Linked DNA regions of Homo sapiens: region 1 is linked to region 2. Evidence: promoter capture Hi-C in 16 types of primary human blood cells and fetal thymus (Javierre and others, 2016). All regions are on one chromosome and are shown on one strand. The core of a region is centred on a gene start or on the middle of the fragment in contact, and the rest is flanking DNA. Distances in the headings are between cores, read along the strand shown.

Region 1 (4,661 bases), core at 1,977-4,476, 540 kb after region 2:
ATCCTCACGCCTCCCGTGTCACTCTGTTTTCCTAACCCAACCACTGCAGATCATGGAGGAATGAATGAAGGCATTTCGTATAGGATTTGGAGCTTACACGAACATCAAGGCTGGGAGAGTGAAGGCCTGGAAGTTTATAGTCAGAGAATCAGACAAAATAGTCCCCACTGACTCTAGCCTGAGGCACTGGAGCAGAAGCTGGGGTTCATGGAAAAGTCCAAGAAACCACCATGTCTGGGTTTGCAGCCTCAATCTGGGAGCTTATGGACTGTTTGCAAAGTTTCCCTGTCTCAGTATTATGATCTCCTGAATATTGTGGATTTTGCTTCACTCTCACCTTCGAAGTCTCTTGTTGGCGTAGTAACCTGGAAGCATGTGGGGCAAGGGATTCTGAGAATTGTAGTTCTCCCTTAGGGGGAAGTGGTGGTGGTGTCACGTTGACAAGAGACATTCCAGCCCACCACTTCCCAAGTAAAGAATTAAAATGCAGCATGATGGCTAAGGCAAGGGCCTGCAGAAGAATGTAAAGGAGGGAGGAAGAGCAGGGGATTCAGAGCAGGTTGTATGGAGGAGGTGATATTTAAGCTTTAGATAGGAAAGGATAAGAAGTTGTTTGGGAAAGGGATTTCCAAGGTGCTGGGTAGGGAAGCATTTCAGAGCTAGGCATGGATCAGCTTGGTTGGGGCATGGCAGTGGAGAGGTGTGGAGGAATGGGAGTGGGTGTGTGGGAAGGCAGGCAGACCTCAGGTCATGAAGGGCCATAGGCGGCAGGGCCAGGAGCACAGACATTTTGGCAATAGGGAGCTACAGACGGGTCTATTGTTGTAGTGGAAAGGTCATTGTGGTGGCAGGAGGAGAGAGGATCTGCAATGCCATTTGTGAAGAAGCCTTTGGAACAGCCCCAGTGAGAGTCTGATAAGGGCCTGAAAGAAAGCAGTGGAACTGAGCATGGTTGACAGGAGCCAGGGCCTGACCAGTGCAGTCTAGGAGTGGAGGAGGGAAGTTGAAGACCTCGTGCATCATGAGTTCCATCAAGTTGATATGCCAACAAAAGAAAATCCTGGTAGAATTCCCAGTGCAGACATGTTTCACGTTTCCTCCTGATTTATCTCATACCTTATATTTTAAAACCTTATCCTTTAGTGGCTCAAAGCTCATGTCTTAGAAACTTTCACTGATCACCCTAGACCCATATCCACCCCTTTCCTACCTCCTTGCAAATCTTAAGGGCCACTTAATTGGACATCGAGCCATTCAGGGTTAACTGATTCCATCCCACCCATGGGCGTTTGGTACAAACAAAAATTTGTTGGGCTAAAATGAAGAAGACATTTACTTGTTGCAATTACATTTCTCTGAGCATCCTTTTCCCCATAAGCCAAATGAGATGGTTAGACTGGGTTATCTCAGATGATCTAATTGGCTAGTTTCTTTCTGGGGCTTCCCAGCCAGACTCTAAATTCCTAAGTGGTATATTATGCCAGGTATGACTCCTTGCACATTCTGGGCTAGTAGTTGCTCAATAAATTTGTTGTTGTTTTTTAAAAACTCTGAGCTGTTATGACAGTTTTTAGACCTGCGTTTGGACTTGGGAAATGATTAATTCTAACTTCTTAAGGCACCACCAACAAATTAGGCAGTTAATTTTCTCCTTCCGAAGGAAAACCACTTTTCCTTTTTAGTATTTATCAGTTAGGCATCCTAAAATGCTCTTAATATCTAGTGTCAGTACAGATTGAACATCCCTAATCTAAAAACCCAAAATGTGAAATGCTCCAAAATCTGAAACTTTTTGAGTGCCAGTGTGACGTTCAAAGGAAATGCTCATTGGAGCATTTCAGATTTTGGATTTTCATGTTAGGGAGGCTCATTGTAGATCCTCTCTCCCCCTGCCATATTAGGGATGCCCTAAATATAATGCAGATATTCCAAAATCTGAAAAAAATCCAAAATTCAAAAATTCTAAACACCTAAGCATTTCATATAAGGGATACTTAACCTGGATATGTAAACTTAGTGCAGCCATTGTGTTCTCTGTTAGTGTGTTCAAGTGGACTCTTGCACATACATTCACTTTATTTTTGGACAAAGCCTTCCCACACTCTCCTTGGTGTAGGGGAGTTGCCTAGAGAGTGGCTCACTATTTCACTTACCCATTGGTTCTGTTTTCTGAACTTCTCTAGGTTGCCTTCTTATGCACAATGACAATGGGCACACCATTTTCTGGCAGCTGACATTCCTCTAGACTGGTGCTTCTCTACCCTGGCTGCATGTTAGAAATATCTTGGGAGCTTCTAAATAGTGTTGAAGTTCTAGCTCCACTTCAGACTCATTAAATCAGAGCTCCTTGGGGGTAGGATCCAGGTAGGGATATTTTTATAAGCTTCCCAGATGGTTCTGATATGCATCTCAGATACACCACAATTCTAGGGCATTTCCTAATCCTAGTCCTTTTTTCCCGTCTTCCCTGCCCCGTTCTGCCACTTGCTAGCTACCCTAGCAGTGCCTGCCTTAAAACTCAGACACAAGCCTGTTGGTCCAAGCTGAGAAGGCATCAGGAAGTGTTTATGGGAAGGAGTTCCAACGGCACCCTCTTGAGCTGGCCGTTGATACTGACCTCCTTATGTTTGCACAGATGGAACTACTGTTTTAAGAGACTTTGTTTTATTTGGTTTGCCAGTGTGCTAGTCAGGGTGAGTGGAAACCTTGCAATGATGATTATTTCTCTATTTTCAGTGAATTTTGAGCAAGAGGCAGTTGGTGACATATAAGGTGGGCATAGGACAGAATCAAAAGACAAAACACAGTGAAAGCTGCAGCAAGGCAAAGCTGAGCACAAGCAAGGCCATCTGTGACAGCCCGTCGCCTAACCGTTTAGCAATGTTTCACCCTTCTTGCTTTTTGAAAAGTCATGTTGGTTGAGCTTGGTAGCTCATGCCTGTAATCCTAGCACTTTGGGAGGCTGAGGTGGGTGGGTTGCATGAGTCCAGGAGTTATAGACCAGCCTGGGCAATATGGTAAAACCCCGTTTCTACCAAAAATACAAAAATTAGCCTGGGGTGGTGGTGTGCATCTGTAGTCCTAGACACTTAGGGGGCTGAGGCGGGAGGATCGCCTGAGCCTGGGAAGTTGAGGCTGCAGTGAGTCCAAGATTGCGCCGCTGCACTCCAGCCTCCTGGGTGACAAAGTGAGACCCTGTCTCCAAAAACAAGAAAAAGAAAGAAAAGTCATGTTTACAATTAGTGCCTGCCCTAGGCTACCCAACCATGTGGGTTGGGTGGATGAGGTCATGCATATTTCTGCTTTATTGATAAGGAAGAGCAGCTCTAGGGAGCTCAGGATTGACCTGTGGCCACTTTGTTGGTTTGGGGTAGAGCCAGACCAGACAGACGTCGGGATTCTGTACTTCCTCACAAATGCTTTCTCGTCTGTATCCTCTTTCCCAAAACTTTTCTTTATTTTCCCTCCTTCCCTTCCCCTTCTGTCCTTTCCTCCCTCCTTTCAATTGCCTCAGGACTGGCGGGGAGGGGATGGAGTTGTTGAGAGAAAACTGTGAGTTTCTGTTTTTAAAGTTCAGAGTGTTAGGTTCCATAAATGCCAGGCCATGAGAGCATTCCTGGAGACGCCTTCAGAGAAAAAAAGAAATCACATCTGTTTTTGTCTGCCTTTATTCTTCATTCAACAGCAGGTTTTTTTAATTCCAAGGAGAAGGATGTCTGCCGTGTATTTCTGTTTCATGGTGAAAGCTCAGAAGTGGTCAAAGGAGACCTTTGTCCCGGCCGTGATCACCCTTGGCTCTTTGGTGGTGGTCCGAGGGCTCTGTAAGACCATATTAGCCAAGTCTTTAGCCCCCGCTTGAAGTCTGTGGGGGCAAGGAACCCAGAACCCAGCCCAGCCAGATGTTCTGGCCCTTGTTCTCTGTCCCTTGCTAGCCCCTGCCTGGCTTGGCCCATTATCTGCTCTGTGCTTTGCAGGAAGGAGGAGACAGTTACTGTCTATCCCGCAGACGTGGTGCTCTTTGAAGGGATCCTGGCCTTCTACTCCCAGGAGGTACGAGACCTGTTCCAGATGAAGCTTTTTGTGGATACAGATGCGGACACCCGGCTCTCACGCAGAGGTGCGTTCTAAAAGCCTCAGGTGGCCCTGTTGGTGGCCACCTTGAGGGCGGGGGAGCTGGGAGCCTGTGACAGGACCCCACCCGCCTGAGTCTGAAGCCCATGCCTTCCCTGAGGCAGCTGTGTGTCGCATGGTCCAGCCCGGCTGCGTCAGTCCAGCCCCAGGATATCCTGCTGCCCAGACACTTGGTAACATTTGAGAAGGGATTAGTCACTTACTGTTTGGGATAACGAAAGGCTTGTGAGGTCACAGAGACTAAATAAGACACTGACATCTGGTTTTGCCTGGAAAAGTTTGATTAAATGCTTAGTTCCTTGCAATTTGTTTATAAGACATCAAAATGAAGATGCTCTGATTTGGGGAACTAACTGTAGGACCCCCGAGGATAGGATCCCCTGTGCCTGAAGTACTGGGCAGCTCATCCTGTTAGCCTGCTTCTCTAGCCCTTTATTTTCCAGCAGGCTTTATGGAGGCATTATCACTCTTTCCAGTCAGCTCAGGAGGGAAGTCAGCTGTGCCCTCCGCAGGCCCTACTAAGTGTGGGC
Region 2 (5,064 bases), core at 1,558-4,057:
AAAAATAGCGGAAGAAGCAAGCCGCTGAGTGTCCCGGCCGGGATTCCCGATGCCAGGCGCGTTCGGCAGCAGTGCTTGAGGGCGAAACGGGCCTCAAAGTGACTCAGCGGAGGCAGGAAATCCACTCTTTGCTACCCCTTGGACTTTGTGTTTTGTTCCTTTAGTTTGTGGGGGGCGGAGAGGTGGTTCAGGTGGCGACGCTTGGCCACCTATATTGGCACTTTTCACAGCTATTTAAAGAAGGCCTTGTCCCCCAGCAACAACACTCTTGCCCTTGTCCCCCCAGTACCAACACTCTTGCGCTCCCCATTTCCCGGCTGCACTCTTCTCATTCTCCCCTTCCGAGAGGCCCGGCCACCGGCTCGGGAGCTGGGCCGGTCGCTTTGGGAGCGGATGAGGAAGGTTAGGAGAAGCAGCGAGATAGATCCCAATTTTACAATTCTATTTTCTTTCGGTAGGGTCTCGGCGTCCTGGGCCACGTTGAGAGCGAACGTGGGCCGAGCGGAGGACACAGAGTAAAAAGCGACGCCCGCTGTATACATAAATCCGCACCCGCTGCCCGCCCGGGTACTGCCTGCTCTGGCTTCCGCTCTCTTCCGAGGCTGGGCAAGTCCAAAAGTTCCCGAAAGGGGGGTTCAAAGAGGGGCGCTCAGTGCACGTGATTTCGTTTCATCTAGGGTGTTGGGGGTGGGGAGATTCCTCACTGGATTTGGTTTCTCCAGCAGAACTGTCTCATCCTCCACATTCATGCCGCTCTAGCGGTTCCGAGTGAAAGAGGCAAGAGGTTTAAAGGACAGAAGGAAAACTCCCTCCTGCTAAAAATAAATAAATAAAATAAAATAAAATAAAATACGGGCTTCCCAAACTTGAAAAGCTCCAAGGGCAGAGTGGGTGGGGGAGCCGTAACCAGAATCTCTGGCTTCAGCTCTGCAAGACCCGTGTGTGGACACTCTTCCGGGGTCCTTGACTCGCTGCTCCTCCTCTGTCGCTGCAAAGGAGTTGTGAGGGGGGACCCACAGGACCCGACATCCAGCTCCAGTTAATTAACGCGGAGCCTAGGGCCCAGCCGCGCGGTCTAATCCCCGCGCTGCGTTGCCTACTGGCCCAGAAAAGTCTCTCTCGGCCTTGCCCATGGCTGAAATTGGGGCTGGAGTTGGTGGGGGAGAGAAGCCTCCTCGAACTTGGGCGCTCCAGGCCTCGGGTCTCGGATGCTATTGCCTCTAGGCCGCGAGAAGAGGGCGGCATTTATGAGACGTCGATCAGCTCCGAGATTAAAAATCCAGCCCTGGGTATTTTTAATCACTTGCCACTCAGACGCCTACGAACAAGCTCGCCCGCCCCTCGCGGCTTTGGGGAATTCGGTGCCCAGTGCGTGAGGCCTGGGGCGGCTTGTTGGATTTATTTGGGTAGGGACGACCCACAAGCACTGACGGACAGATAGTGATGGGGCTCAATTTAGTGTATGAAGAGGGGCGCTAGCTTCCCTATCGCGGACCAGGTCCCAGAGAGCGGGGCTCCAGAGCTCAGCGCCAAGCGGAAAGAGAGTGCGCCCAGGACGCACGGCCTGAACACTCACCCAGCAGCGAGGAGAAGGAGGCCGAGGTGTCGATCGCGCTTTGGAAGTTCTCCTCCATCTTTAGGCCGTCCAGCATGTTCGGGCCGGGCCGGGAGGACCTGTAGAGGAGAAGAAACGATGCGTCTGACGTCCGTGCCCGCTGGGACTCGGCGCCAGCAGCCACCGCACTCCTGGGAAAGAACTGAGGGAGTGTCCAGGGCGACCAGAATCAGCCAGGAGGATAGGGTCCAGCCAAGAGAATGTAGGGTGGGAGGAGAGATCAGTCACAGCGAACTGCTCTGGCTGATCTGATTTCACTTGAAGTCAACACGTTATGTACTTAGGCCTCCGCCCCCCAACTGCGTTTCTCCTTCTCCTGCCCCCCTCACCCCCACCTACATCCCTTGCCCCAGGTTTTCCATCCCGAATCCGACTCCGCCCCAACCTATACGAAGGTGGGCCCTCGGGACGTCTCTGCAGGAACGCAGCTACTGGGGTATATTGGGTATATAAAGAGTGGGTACCCTCCCTCGAGCGACCGGGTCCAGGCACGCGGGACGATGGGGTTTGCAATCCCGCGTCCCAGCCGCCCCGTTGCGGCCCTCACCTGCCCCAGGTCGAGAAGGGGCACTGTAAGGGACCCGGAGGGCGTCCCGCCCGCTTCTGGACTCCTGGCGCTGCGCTCTGTTGGGGTGCGCGCAGGAGCCGGTGTGCGGGGCGCGCGGGGAGGTCCTCCCGCCAGTCGGCCAGTGCCGGGAATGTCTGCAGAAGCAAAAGAGTCGCCTCGGGGAGGAGCCCCGGCTGGCCCGGCTCACTCTTGGATGCATTTCAAGTCAACTTTCAGAAACACGCCCGCCCGAGCCACAGCCTAGGCACGGGCAGCCTTACTTACCTGGTAGGCGAGCTCTCTCCCAGTGACTGGAGCAGAGAGAAGTTGCGGAGCGCTGCTGGAAGCTTCTGCCCGGGAAGGCGTCGCCCCCGAGACTGCAGCCGGAGGAGCCGCCCTCGGCTTCGGAGCGCCGGGGAGGGAGCCGGAGCGAACGCCGGCCGCTGGCTCTGCTCCTCGGCGCGCCCAGGCTGGGCCGGGACGTGGTCGCGAGCTGCCGGCCTTCCCGGGACGTCCTACCAGCCCGCGTCGCTCCTCAGCGGGAGGAGAGGGCCAGTTGCTTCTCCAAGGCTAGGAGGGAAGGCAGAGGCCCAGGGTCCTGGGTGCGAGTCGGCCCTGCTTCGCCGGGGCGGATCCTGCAGCTTCTGACAGGGGCCGCGGCGCTGCGTGCGCGGCGGCGGAGAGGGGGTGGGGTGCGCTGGGCGGGGGGCTGGCAGCGCGTCCCGTGGCGGGGCCGTGGTGCTCCCTTTCCCAGCCTGGCTGCGCGGCCACCACACGGCCGCTGCCCTCTGAGCCCCTCCGCCTCTGGGAGCTCTCGGACACGCTAAGTTTCCTCCCCTCCACGTGTAACTGTTACCTCGGGGCGCTCTGGCCCGGTCGCCCCCCAGTGCCCCTCACCCCGACTGGGCCTTTGCGGAGATGTCGGCGCCTCCTGGACAGCGGTGCCGCCACGAGGATTCCCCCGCCGCTCTCCAACTGCTGCTATAAAAGCGCTGCAATCCTTACCCGGGCCCCGGGAAGCGCTGAGAAGCTGTTTAGCGCCAGTAGATGTGGGCCCAGCAGCTCCTAGCTCCTCAAACCCCTCATCACCCGAGGGCTCATGCCAGTTTCCAACTTCCTTTAAGGTCGAACCATATTCACTCATGGGGCGTACAGAGGCCATGGGACTCACGGCCTAAGAATCATGCTCTTGGGAGACACTAGGTGGGATCTGCCCCCCAGATGATGAACTTGCAATGACACTCAACAGGAAATCAGGTAAAGGGACATTGTTAGGGGAACAAAGTATCTGGGGAGAAATGTGAATTATCTGCACCTCCTAACTTTAATTTACAATAACAGACCTTTAGCCCCCTCCAGAGCAGGAATAAGGCCTTATCCGTCTGTATAGCCCAGGAGGTAAGCATGTTGTGTGACCCCAAGTGGATGCTCAATAAATAAATTACAATGCTGGCTAGCGTTTATCGTTTATTTTGTGCCAGCTTTGTTACACAGTCACCTCATTTAATCTTTACAACAACCCCCATGAAGTGGAGACAATTGTTGTCCCAATCTTACAGTTGAGGGAAATGGAAGGGAATTCATGGAATCCGAGTCCCATCATCTGAATACCATGGGAAGGTTCAGTTCAATTCAGTGTGATTCTCTGGGGCACCTTCAGTTCCTAAACTGAACTGAACTGAGATGAAATTGGCAGGCCGTTTGACATGGTGAACTCAGGCAGAGGAGATGCCACATAGCCAGGGTTTTTCTATTACCTCCTCCAAAGACAGAGCCACTTCTTTATTCCTAAAGAAAAAGTGCTGGCAGCAACTTGCTCTAATGTGCTTAGGAGCAGCGACCCCACTAAGCACTAAAAAAGCCATTCTAAGTGCTTTCTGCCAGCAGGCACAAGCCAAACACTGAATATGACTCCAGAAGAAAGAGGGGAAATGGCAAAGAGGCTAATACGTTATATTCGAATGCTGCTTTACAGGCATTTTCACATACATGATTTTGCTTGATCTTTACAGCAAACCTGTGAGGTAGGCAGAACAGTTTTATCTTTTGTTTCAGATGAATCTTTGGAGCTTAGCACGGCTGGGAGATTTCCCTGATGTTGCCCAGATGGCTAGTGGCATGTCTCCTAACACCTGACCTCTGTCCTTTCTGTCACCCCAGGTAGAGCAGGGTGTAAAAAAATACAAACTACAAGTATTATTAGGATAATATGTGAAATAGAAGTTAAGCAAGAAAAAAATGGAATAGGGCAGATACAACCATAAGGAATGTTTTTATGTAAATACCCGGCAGAATTTTGGTTTCACTAAAGGTCTTATATGAAATATATGAAATACATTTTAACTAGTGGTAAGACTATTCCTTTTAGTGAATATCCTGAAAGTAGATAGATTGTCATTTGACCTGAAACTCAAATCTTTCAAACAATTCTTACATCCACCCACAAGGCCGCTTGATTAGTGTAGATCACACAGGTTTTTGGTGAGAATGTCTCCCCAGCCATTGGGCACTTCAGGATGGGGACGGTGCCTCAAAAATCACATCATAAGTCATATCACTTTTAGTGCAGACCTAGACACATACAATTGATGAACAAATGCCTTTTACTTGGTTGAGGAATGAATAGAACTCTCACTACAGTCAGAAGGCACTGCAGTGAAGGGTCAGGAATCAAAGGACCTCCGTTCCATTCCCAGCTTTGCCACTGAATTGGTCTGGGCCATCAGTTCACCTCTTTAGATGTCAATACCTCTCTGGAATGAAGGGTCTACATTATGTGGTTGGTCAGGCCCTCACAGTCTAAAGTCTGTGAAACCAGTCCAGTGGGGTAGGCAGTGGGGTAGCTTTGGCCAGTGGGGTAGGCAGTAGAACCAACAGATCCATATGAGGTGCTGAGCAGTGG

Evidence for each region. The method cuts DNA at HindIII sites, captures the fragments that hold promoters and counts their contacts. A CHiCAGO score of 5 or more calls a contact.
Region 1: a fragment that was not itself captured here is called in contact with the fragment with the promoter of LMX1A in region 2 in 2 of 17 cell types (naive CD8 T cells and total CD4 T cells); the score reaches 6.2 in naive CD8 T cells.

What each region holds. Positions count from the first base shown.
Region 1 is chr1:165,892,216-165,896,876 of GRCh38, forward strand. UCK2 (uridine-cytidine kinase 2) reads left to right here. Exons shown (of 7, transcript NM_012474.5): 4 at 3,975-4,117. Among named protein-coding and RNA genes, the nearest start is that of MIR3658, 13 kb to the right of the region's middle. The HindIII fragment of the contact is 1,691 bases long and covers 2,382-4,072 here.
Region 2 is chr1:165,353,908-165,358,971 of GRCh38, forward strand. It overlaps LMX1A (LIM homeobox transcription factor 1 alpha), which reads right to left and starts at 2,808. Exons shown (of 9, transcript NM_177398.4): 1 at 2,448-2,808; 2 at 1,577-1,674. The coding sequence starts at 1,652. The HindIII fragment of the contact is 4,667 bases long and covers 2,508-5,064 here.